2 separate regions of the Homo sapiens genome follow, and region 1 is linked to region 2. The links are contacts of gene promoters, found by promoter capture Hi-C in human tissues and cell types (Jung and others, 2019). All regions are on one chromosome and are shown on one strand. The core of a region is centred on a gene start or on the middle of the fragment in contact, and the rest is flanking DNA. Distances in the headings are between cores, read along the strand shown.

Region 1 (4,585 bases), core at 246-2,745, 150 kb before region 2:
TGAAGTAGTTTTCTTATTAAAGTAGGTTAAGATCAAGTGTTTTAGAACAGGAACAAAAATATTTTTTTAAAACTCAGAGGGTATGACTTGCTAAAAATAGAAGTAATAGCTAATAATAGCATGTTTTAACTTTGACTGTTTTCTTCTGTGTATGCACAAGTCCACAAACCAGAGTTAGAAAGTTTTATAAATTAATACTTCACAGCAGCTGAATATAATGCCAGTCATAAATATTTATGTACACATTAATGTAAATCTTTCAAAACTAAACTCATTTTAATTTTTATGGTGTTTTTGTAATTTATTTGATTATTTCTTAGTGAGATTTAGCGTTCATCATTAACAAGAAGACATAGTTATAATTTTCTCTTTTCTAGGTAGAAGTTTTAAAATAGGATTATTTTCATTGCATAAAGCTGAGCAAGAGAAACAATATTTCTTTAAATATTGTTTAGTTGATTATCTTTTCCTAAGATCCACATTCTATTTAAGGTTTTTATTTTTTTTTAATTTTTCTTTAAAATTTCAAATAATGATTTTTAAGTTTCCATATAAAAGACAGTAGACCTTCTACCATCCGAGTATTATTTAAATGAAAGCATCCTTCAGAAACAAATTTTATGAAGCACAGTAACAAGGAAGAAACATTTCCGATCCAATTTTGGATTGTTTTCTTTTTTTTTTTTTTTTTTTTTTTGAGATAGGGTCTCACTCTCTTGCCCAGACTGGAGTGCAGTGACGCCAGCGGCTTCCTGCAACTTCTGCATCACAGGCTTAAGCAATTCCCCTGCCTCACCCTCCTGAGTAGCTGGGATTACAGGCGTGCGTCACTACTGCCCAGCTAGTTTTTGTGTTTTTAGTAGAAACGGGGCTTCACCATGTTGGCCAGGCTGGTCTCGATCTCCTGACCTCAAATGATCCACCCTCCTCAGTCTCCCAAAGTACTGGGATCGATTTTGGGGTGTTTTCTGATACTGGCTTTTATGTAATTAGCTGATAGATTGGGGCACATCCTTTTTTAATTAAGTTGATTTTACCTCAAATAGAAAAATAACCTACAAATGTATTGATTTATAATTGTTATAGGAGTAAAAAATATTTATGAAATTAAGAGTTTCAACAGGCTTATTATTTTCAGCTGCATTTTTTAGGAAGAATAACTCATGGTCTGATAACGTCTGTCAACCTTTTGAAGAGTCAATTATTTCATTACTTTTCTTACTTTTTTTTTTTTTTTTTTGAAGATTATAGTTTCTTAAAAAATACTTCATTTCAACCCATGGTAACTCATGTCATGTTGTATTACCCCTCCTTATGTTGGTATATGGTCTCCCAGAAGTTACTAGATTAATTAAACCTACATATATGTTTTGAAGAAACTTGGATTGTGTATCTGAAATAATTGTATTATATCTAATATTTTTTAACAGAATAACCCAAATGCACATGGCGATTTTTTAAAAATAAATAGAGCATATGAAGTACTCAAAGATGAAGATCTACGGAAAAAGTATGACAAATATGGAGAAAAGGGACTTGAGGATAATCAAGGTGGCCAGTATGAAAGCTGGAACTATTATCGTTATGATTTTGGTAAGGTGATACGATATTACTTATGAAATGTGTTTTATCTGAGTAAAAGAAAAGTGAATTCTGTTTCACCACTTAGCTTATATATTTAAGATGCGTCACTTTGATTAGCTCCTTTTAATTTGCTGTGGGAGTGAAATTTAAAAGGAATGTCAGTTGGTATACAGAGATGATCTGTACAGATATGAAGTTGTATTGGTTAAATCTTGTTAAATACTTTTAAAATAAGGATTGCTATTTAATAAAAAATATGCATTCATGGACTGCATAATGACATTTCACTTAACAATGGATTGTATGTAGGACATTGGTCCCATGAAATTATAATACCATATTTTTACTGTACCTTTTCTATATTTAAATACAAAGATACTTAGCATTGTGTTACAGTTGCCTATGGTATTCAGCAGTAACATGCTGTACAGATTTGTAGACTAGGTGTGTAGTAAGCTATACTATCTAGGTTTGTGTAAGTACACTCTGTGATGTTTTTGCAACAACAAAATTCCCTAACAACACATTTCTCAGAATGTGTCCCATTAGTAAGTGATGTATGACTATATGTTTGCATTAGGGGTAGCTAAATATTTCTTTCAGTATTTTTTAGTATTGAATAATATTAATTTCTTTCAATATATTTTAGAGCATCATATTGTCCAAGAAAGGCGAAACTTCAAGTTTAGTAATGATCTCTTCAATAGAAATGCCGTCCTTCTCATATGGAACCCTTACTGATTTTTAAGGTGTTTTGGCCTTCGGTTGACATTAAGGTCAATACCTTGAAACATTATCAATAAAGGTTCCATATGAGAAGGACGAAAGGTGTTTTTTTTCTTAAACATGGAGGAAAAAATAAGGTGGAAGGAGGAAACAAAGTAAAGGAACTAAGGAAGAGAGATTGTAAACACACAGGTATCAAGGGAGGAAGGTGTGTTCAGAGACCCAGTGTTTCTCCTAGTCATTAATTAACCTCAAATGCAGGCTAAGAACTGAATATGCTTCTGTATTAGACTAAATGAAGTATTTTAAATTTATATCTGGAGGATTTGCTTTTAGTAAATATGATTTTTTTTCAAAATAGTATTTTCAAGTATATTCTCTACACCTTGATAGTCTATATCAAGAGTTAGCAGACTGCATTTCATAGGCCAAATCTGGCTTGCCATTTGCTTTTATAAATAAGTTTTATTGGAATGGAATTACTTTAATTTGTTTACATAATATATGTGACTTCTTTCACACTTCAAGAGCAGAGTTGAGAAGTTGTGATAGAAGCCATACATCCCACAAAGCCTAAAAAATGTATATTTACTAAATATTTGTGTCTGCCTCTGCAAATACTCTAAGCTTTTTAGCAGAAGATATTCTAACATGATACCATGTGTTAAAAACCATATAATCTGAAAATCAAATGAGGTCTGTAGTCTAGTTAACAGTGTACCACTCTCAATTTCCTGGTTTTCGATATTGTGCTATATAGCTACATAACATGTCACCATTAGAGGAAGGTGAGTAAAAAGTATACAAGAGTCTATATTTTTGCACCTTCCTGAATCTGTAATTATTTTTAAAACCATAATATAAATTTTATATGGAGGTAAAATTATGTGAATATTACGAACTACCGCATACACATCTATGAGAGTCCATATCAGAATTCTAATATCTTTAGATCACCCTAAATGTACTGATAGTATTATTTACTTTTTTTTCACTTAGGATGTTGCATATTCTCTAAGTTTGAGATATAATATAGTAGTTTGATTTTTTTGATGATTAAAACGAGTAATCTATTTTTATGTTGCAATTTATATGGTGAAGTTTTGATTTTATAATTTTTATATACTTTTAAAATTAGGTATTTATGATGATGATCCTGAAATCATAACATTGGAAAGAAGAGAATTTGGTAAGTTTGTGGGCTTAAGGTTTTATAAAACTAATACAAGTTCGATCTCATCTAAAACTCTAGGGGATATATATGTTTGAAATTTAGAAATCTTTTGGAGTTTCGAACAGTAATAATGTAATATACTGTATCTTAAATATTTCTAGCAGAATGTGGGGAAGTGTACCATAATAAAAACATTAATATTTATGTAGCAAAATGTGTAAGTATATATACTAAATAAAAGAAATTTAAAAATCAGTTCAGATCAGGTTTGGATGCCAAGTGAGCTTGCTGCAAACTTACAGCAAAACTTCTCAGAGCTTTTTGATTTTAGAGTTTTGGATAAAGGTATAGTTATTTTGGAAGTAGATTTAATTTGATTGGCAACTTTGTGTGAAAATGGCCATAAAAATACAGTTCTGCATTTTCCATTGCATTTTAGAAAATTGTATACCAGAATAGATTCTTATACTTTCATCCTTTGTACAGTAATAATAGGTTTATTTTTTCTATTTCAGAGCAATAAATTAAACTTCAAATCAAATTTCAATTTTATATTGCTCTATCACAATTGTATTTAATTTAGAAAACTAAAATACAGCCAGGCGCGGTGGCTCACACCTGTATAATCCCAGCACTTTGGGAGGCCAAGGCAGGCAGATCGCTTGAGATCAGGAGTTAGAAACCAGCCTGGCCAACATGGGGAAAACCCTCTCTACTAAAAATACAAAAATTAGGTGTGCCTGGTGGCACGCACCTGTAATCCCAGCTACTTGGGAGGCTGACGCACAAGAATCGCGTGAATCTGGGAGGCTGATATTGCAGTGAGCCATGATGGCACCACAAAAAAAAAGAAAACTAAAATAGCGTACCAGTCGCAAAAAATACATATAAATCTATATGTTTTTCATATATTATCGTTAAAAATTTATTACAGCTACTTGATTTTATACAGTTTGTTCCTTCTAAGCAAGGGTGGCTTTTTTTTTTTTTTTTTTTTGAGACGGAGTCTTGCTTTGTCACCCAGACCAGTGTGCAGTGGCACGATCTTGGCTCACTGCAACCTCTGCCCCCTGGGTTCAAGCGATTCTCCTGCCTCAGCCT
Region 2 (4,963 bases), core at 538-3,037:
CACATCTAAGAACAGAGTTGTTGGGGGGTGGGGGATGTGGTATGAAAGAGGACCACTCATGAAAAAAAATTGCCTTCTTTATAAAATATATGAAGGGTAAAATTTGAGGTTGGGTTAGTTGGTAGAAGTAATACTGAGTTAGAATTAAATGGACCATAATGAAGTAGGTTTAGTTGGGGTCTTAAAGTTACAAATGTCATAATTAGACTAAACACTAGTGAGAAAACAACTTGTGATTGACTCCATTAAATTTAGAGCTGCAATAAAGTTTTATGGTAGGGAAAGACTGAAATGACTGTGGTTGGTGCACACACGGAAAAGGAGCATGAAATAAGGTATTAAAGACAATTTTTTTTTCAAAACATGAGAGTGGAATAAGGGGTGAGATTTAAAATAACATTACGTGAGTGTATGATAACACGCCTTAAATATAACTCCTTTCATCTGTATGCCACTTATAAAATGACTTGAAGGCATGTGGGCATGTGAAAAGAGCTCAGTAATTTCAGTCTGCCAGCTCTATGGCAAGCCACAGAAGCTAATTAACAGTGCATAGCAATGTTTCACAATTGTTTCATTCTGGAATGGAAGAACAATTTATCTCATTGAAAGGAGGGGGAAATTTAAGGTGAAGGTAATTGCTCAAACTGGATCTTGAGCAAACACATACCCCTAACATCTGTCGGTTAGAGTAAGGTTATTGAAATTATCTTGGCATTTTTAATTAGAAGAAAATGGGGCTTCAGTTTTCTGTTTCCTCCACACAATCTTAACAAGCATCTAAGACACTAAAGATACAGAAACCTGATGACTGAGATTGCCTGAGAATCAGCAAAGAAAACCCAATGATTATAAACACATTTTAAAAGAAAAAGAGCATCACTTTACAAAATGTGGCTACTTGCACATGTAAGGAGTTGAAGTGAAGGATTCCTGTGGAGTAGAAGTGTGATGGGTTTGGAATGCATGGATTGTTTTAGAAAGATCGCCTATTGGAACACAGTGCCAGAGTGCATCAGTTTGGAAGGTGATAAGGTGAGGGTTTTTTTGTTTTTGTTTTTGAAAAAAGAAGAAAGAAGAAGAAGGGTCTTTGATAGAGGAGCAGTTATGGGAGAGATTAAGTGATCCGAAGAGAAAAAAATTAGAGAGTAAAGGCTAGTAACAAGGACTCCAAGAATTGAGGAGGCTGTAGGGTAAGGGAAGGGTGGGCCGTGTCAAAACTCACCAGCTCCGTCCGCAGTAACGATGGCCTCGGGAGAGATGCACACGCCCCTGTCGTACACTGGCAGCTCCTCGCAGGCCAGGTTCTCCGGCCACGAGTGGCGGTACTTGATGAGTATGGGCTCACAGCCCTGCCGGGCCCGCTCGCACACAGACTTACAGGGCTTGATGGGCTCGTGCTGGAAGTCAATGGTGCAGATGGGCGCGTACATGGCACAGAGGAAGAAGAGCAGATCGGGGCTGCAGTGGGTGCCCAGCAGACCTTCGAACTGCTCGATGGCCAGGATGGCGTTGGCCTGAGTGCTGTGGTGCAGGTGGTTGGGCATCTTAGTCATGTTCCAGGGCAGGGACTTGCACAGGGGGATGCGGACGGGCTCACAGGCTGCAGCCCGAGCCCCGGGCACCCGGAGCAGGCAGAGAGCAGCCAGGGCAAGCAGCCCGGCCCGCAGCAGCAGCATCCCTCCCGGGCTGCCGCAGACCATGATCCCGGCAGGATGGGGCAGGGTGCAGCCGCGCAGTGGACGCCAAAAGGCCCGCTCCGCCGTCTCCGCCTCCCCCGCTGCAAGTGGACACAAGGATCTGGGAGCTTCTCCTCCCCCGGCAATCACCGCTTCCTTGGATCAAATTCCCCCAATGGGGTCCCACGAGCTTTACCGAGCTCCAGCCACCGCCCCTGCCGCCCAGGCTGCTCTTTCCCAACGTCTAAGCCTTCGGAAGCAGCAACATCTATTTATTCCTCTCCCTCTGGCAGAAGCATCAGACTTCGCAGATCAGTCAGATAAGAGGGACACGAGAGGAGGCGAGGAAGACATAAAAACAAAAGTAGAATTCAGCTGAGAGCTAGTTGGAGCTCTGGGGTGTCTCCTCCCCTAGATCACGCACACAAAAAGATGCTAAAGAAAGCATTAAATTCCCCAAAGTGAGGAGGACAGAGGGGTTGGGGGGAAGGAGGGAGGAAAAGCTCCTAATGGGAGAGAAGGGTGCAGTAAGAGTTTACAAGTCCTGTGTGGGCTAAGAGCTGCGGCCGCCGCTGCGGCTGCGACCCTGGCTGGCAGGAGGGACGCTCAGGAGGAGCCCCGCAGGGACGTCTGTGCCTCTGCCCGGGCGGCTCTGCACTTTCCTACCTCCCGCCTGAGAGGGAGCTCCGCCCCTGGGGCAGTCTCTGCCCTCCAGTGCCGGCTGCTCTTCCCGAGAATGGAGTGGGCGCCCGGGGAAGAGAAGGCCTGGGAGTCGCAGGCGGTGGGGTGCGAAGCCGTGCGAGTGCGAGACCCCAAGACAGCGCCGAGTCGAGCGCGCCCTCACACTAGGGAACCCGTCTTTGGCCCCAGAAACGAGCCCCTAGCCCCTCACTGAAGAGCCCACCCCAATTCCCTACGGAAAAGTCCCCCTAGTTCCCCACTTGGGAACCCACCCGAGACCCTCCTTCCTGGAGGTATTTCCTTTAAGCAAACTACAGCTTTTCCTCTGCAATCACTGGCTCTGCAGAAAGTCAGACCTGGTGGGGGGAAAGGCTTAAGCAATGTCACTTTGTCCAAGTAGCGGAAAACACAGACCCCTGCGAGCAACGGTGGAGCCATATCAACCCAGAGCTAGTGACTACAGAGGTCTCCATTTTCAATAACTGCGGGGGAGGAGGTGGGGGGAGGATTGCCTTTAAAAAAAAAAAAAAAGAGAGAGAGAAACAAAGAAATGCTGTTCATGACTACAAATAGGCCACCAGAAGCAAGGAAAAGGGGTTTTTTCCTTCTATTCCCGCCCCCCCCACCTAGTGGAATTAGAACTCTTGAGCTTTGCTCCTTAAGGGTTAACGTGGAAACTAACAGCTCTAATACACTTGGACTTTTTTTTTCTGATTTTGCTCACGGATAACATGGCAGATATTATTTGTTATTCTCAGCAACAATTCTGCCCGACACTTAAAAAAAAAGTGTAGGAAAACGACATCACGCAGGTAATAATGATGATTATAACAACAATCAAAACCTTTCCATCCAGATGAGTTCAATCTGGAGGAGAAAATGGAAAACAGATCCCCTCCTGGTCTGCTTCTTCCACTAATGAGCTCCCTCTTCCCCCCACCCCCGCCCCACTCTACCCTTTCAGCTTATATTGTAAATGGAATGACCTGCAGAGGCCTTCACACTATGCCCTCTCAATGGGAAATCACTGAGCAAAAGGATTGCCGAATGTCAGAAAACACAGCCTTCATTGAGAGGAGAAGGAAACAAAACCTGAAACAAAACAGGAAGTCACCTTTGCTCTGCATCACTGAAATATTTCTCTGCTTCAATTTAGCCATCTCTCACCGTCCATAACAAGCAGAGAAATATGTCCCCACTTCAGAGCACATAGTGAGATGCTCATTTTCATTCCCTAGAGTGACTTGACAGCACTTATAAAATGTCAATGCTAACTTGAGTTATGGAATTTTATATCTAAAATGATCATAAACAGCAGTTTGTGACTGCTGTAAATTTTTTTGGAAGGAAGTTTGTTCCACTTATGGTGGCGGGGGCGGGGAACACCAGATGGTAGACAGGGAGTCAGTTAGTATACAAACTTTGCCTGGTCTACAATTATCTAGTGTCATGTAAGAGAACAAATTCAAAAATTGTACAAACGAATTTAAAATGATTTATCAAGTAAAATTTAGAGGAAAAACAACTTTAAAAGACAGTCAACATTAGAACATTTTGGGACTATTTTGTATAAGAAAAATATAGCTGAGATTTTCAATAATTAGAAGAAAAAACATCAGGAGTAGATGTAGTAGATTGTTTGCTAAATACATTTTTCTGTTCATCTTAAGTCTTACAGTGTGAGAAGAAATGTGCCAATAGTTTTAAAGGTTCTACAACTATTTGAAACAAAGTCTGTTTTCCTTCCCCTGCACAAAAGTCAGCTATCTTCTTTGTCTAATAGGTCCCCTTACAACTTTAATCCAAATTTGTTTTTATAAAAGCCCAAAATAAATGTCACTGTCTTGAGGAAGCCCTTTTGAGTACCTTGTCTAGTTGTGTTCATTTTTCTGGTTAGTTACCCTTGAACAGTGTTTGTTTTTACAAATTATTCCTTTATTTATTTATTTATTTATTTTGAGATGGAGTTTTGCTCTTGTTGCCCAGGCTGGAGTGCAGTGGCACTATCTTGGCTCACTGCAACCTCCACCTCCCGGGTTCAAGAGATTCTCCTGCCTCAGCCTCCCTAGTAGACTCACAAGCTCCCCACTTGTGAGTCTCCAAAGTCTGTTATACCTCTCAAAGATATGCCTTCTTGTACCCATAGCTTTGCTCTCATTTATAAGTGAGAACATACAGTATTTCATTTTCCATTCCTGAGTTAAATCACCTAGTATAATGGCCTCCAGCTCCACCCAAACTGCTGCAAAATACATTATTTCATTCTTTCTTCTGGCTGGGTAGTATTCCGTGGTGTATATATACCACATTTTCTTTATCCACTCATCATTTGATGGACATGGACACTTAGTTTAGTTCCATATTTTTGGTTGATGGGCACTTAGTTTGGTTCTATATCTTTGCAATTGTGAATTGTGTTGCAATAAACATATGCATGCAGTTGTCCTTCTGACAAATTGATGTCTTTTCACTTGGGTAGATACCCAGTAATGGGATTGCTGTATCAAACTGTAGGTCCAGTTTCGTTCTTTGAGAAATCTTCACACTGTTTTTCATAAAGGTTGTACTAATTTACATTTCCACCAGCAGTGTATAAGCATTCC

The links. The method cuts DNA at HindIII sites, captures the fragments that hold promoters and counts their contacts. A contact is called where the count stands out against the background at its distance.
Region 1: a contact is called between a fragment that was not itself captured here and the fragment with the promoter of FRZB in region 2, in 1 of the 25 tissues and cell types used here (H1 embryonic stem cells).

Annotation. Positions count from the first base shown.
Region 1 is chr2:182,718,577-182,723,161 of GRCh38, forward strand. DNAJC10 (DnaJ heat shock protein family (Hsp40) member C10) reads left to right here. Exons shown (of 24, transcript NM_018981.4): 4 at 1,431-1,593; 5 at 3,449-3,499. Among named protein-coding and RNA genes, the nearest start is that of DNAJC10, 4.6 kb to the left of the region's middle. The HindIII fragment of the contact is 5,084 bases long and covers 1-4,037 here.
Region 2 is chr2:182,864,850-182,869,812 of GRCh38, forward strand. It overlaps FRZB (frizzled related protein), which reads right to left and starts at 1,788. Exons shown (of 6, transcript NM_001463.4): 1 at 1,226-1,788. The coding sequence starts at 1,703. RefSeq lists an enhancer at 951-1,919. The HindIII fragment of the contact is 7,330 bases long and covers 1-4,963 here.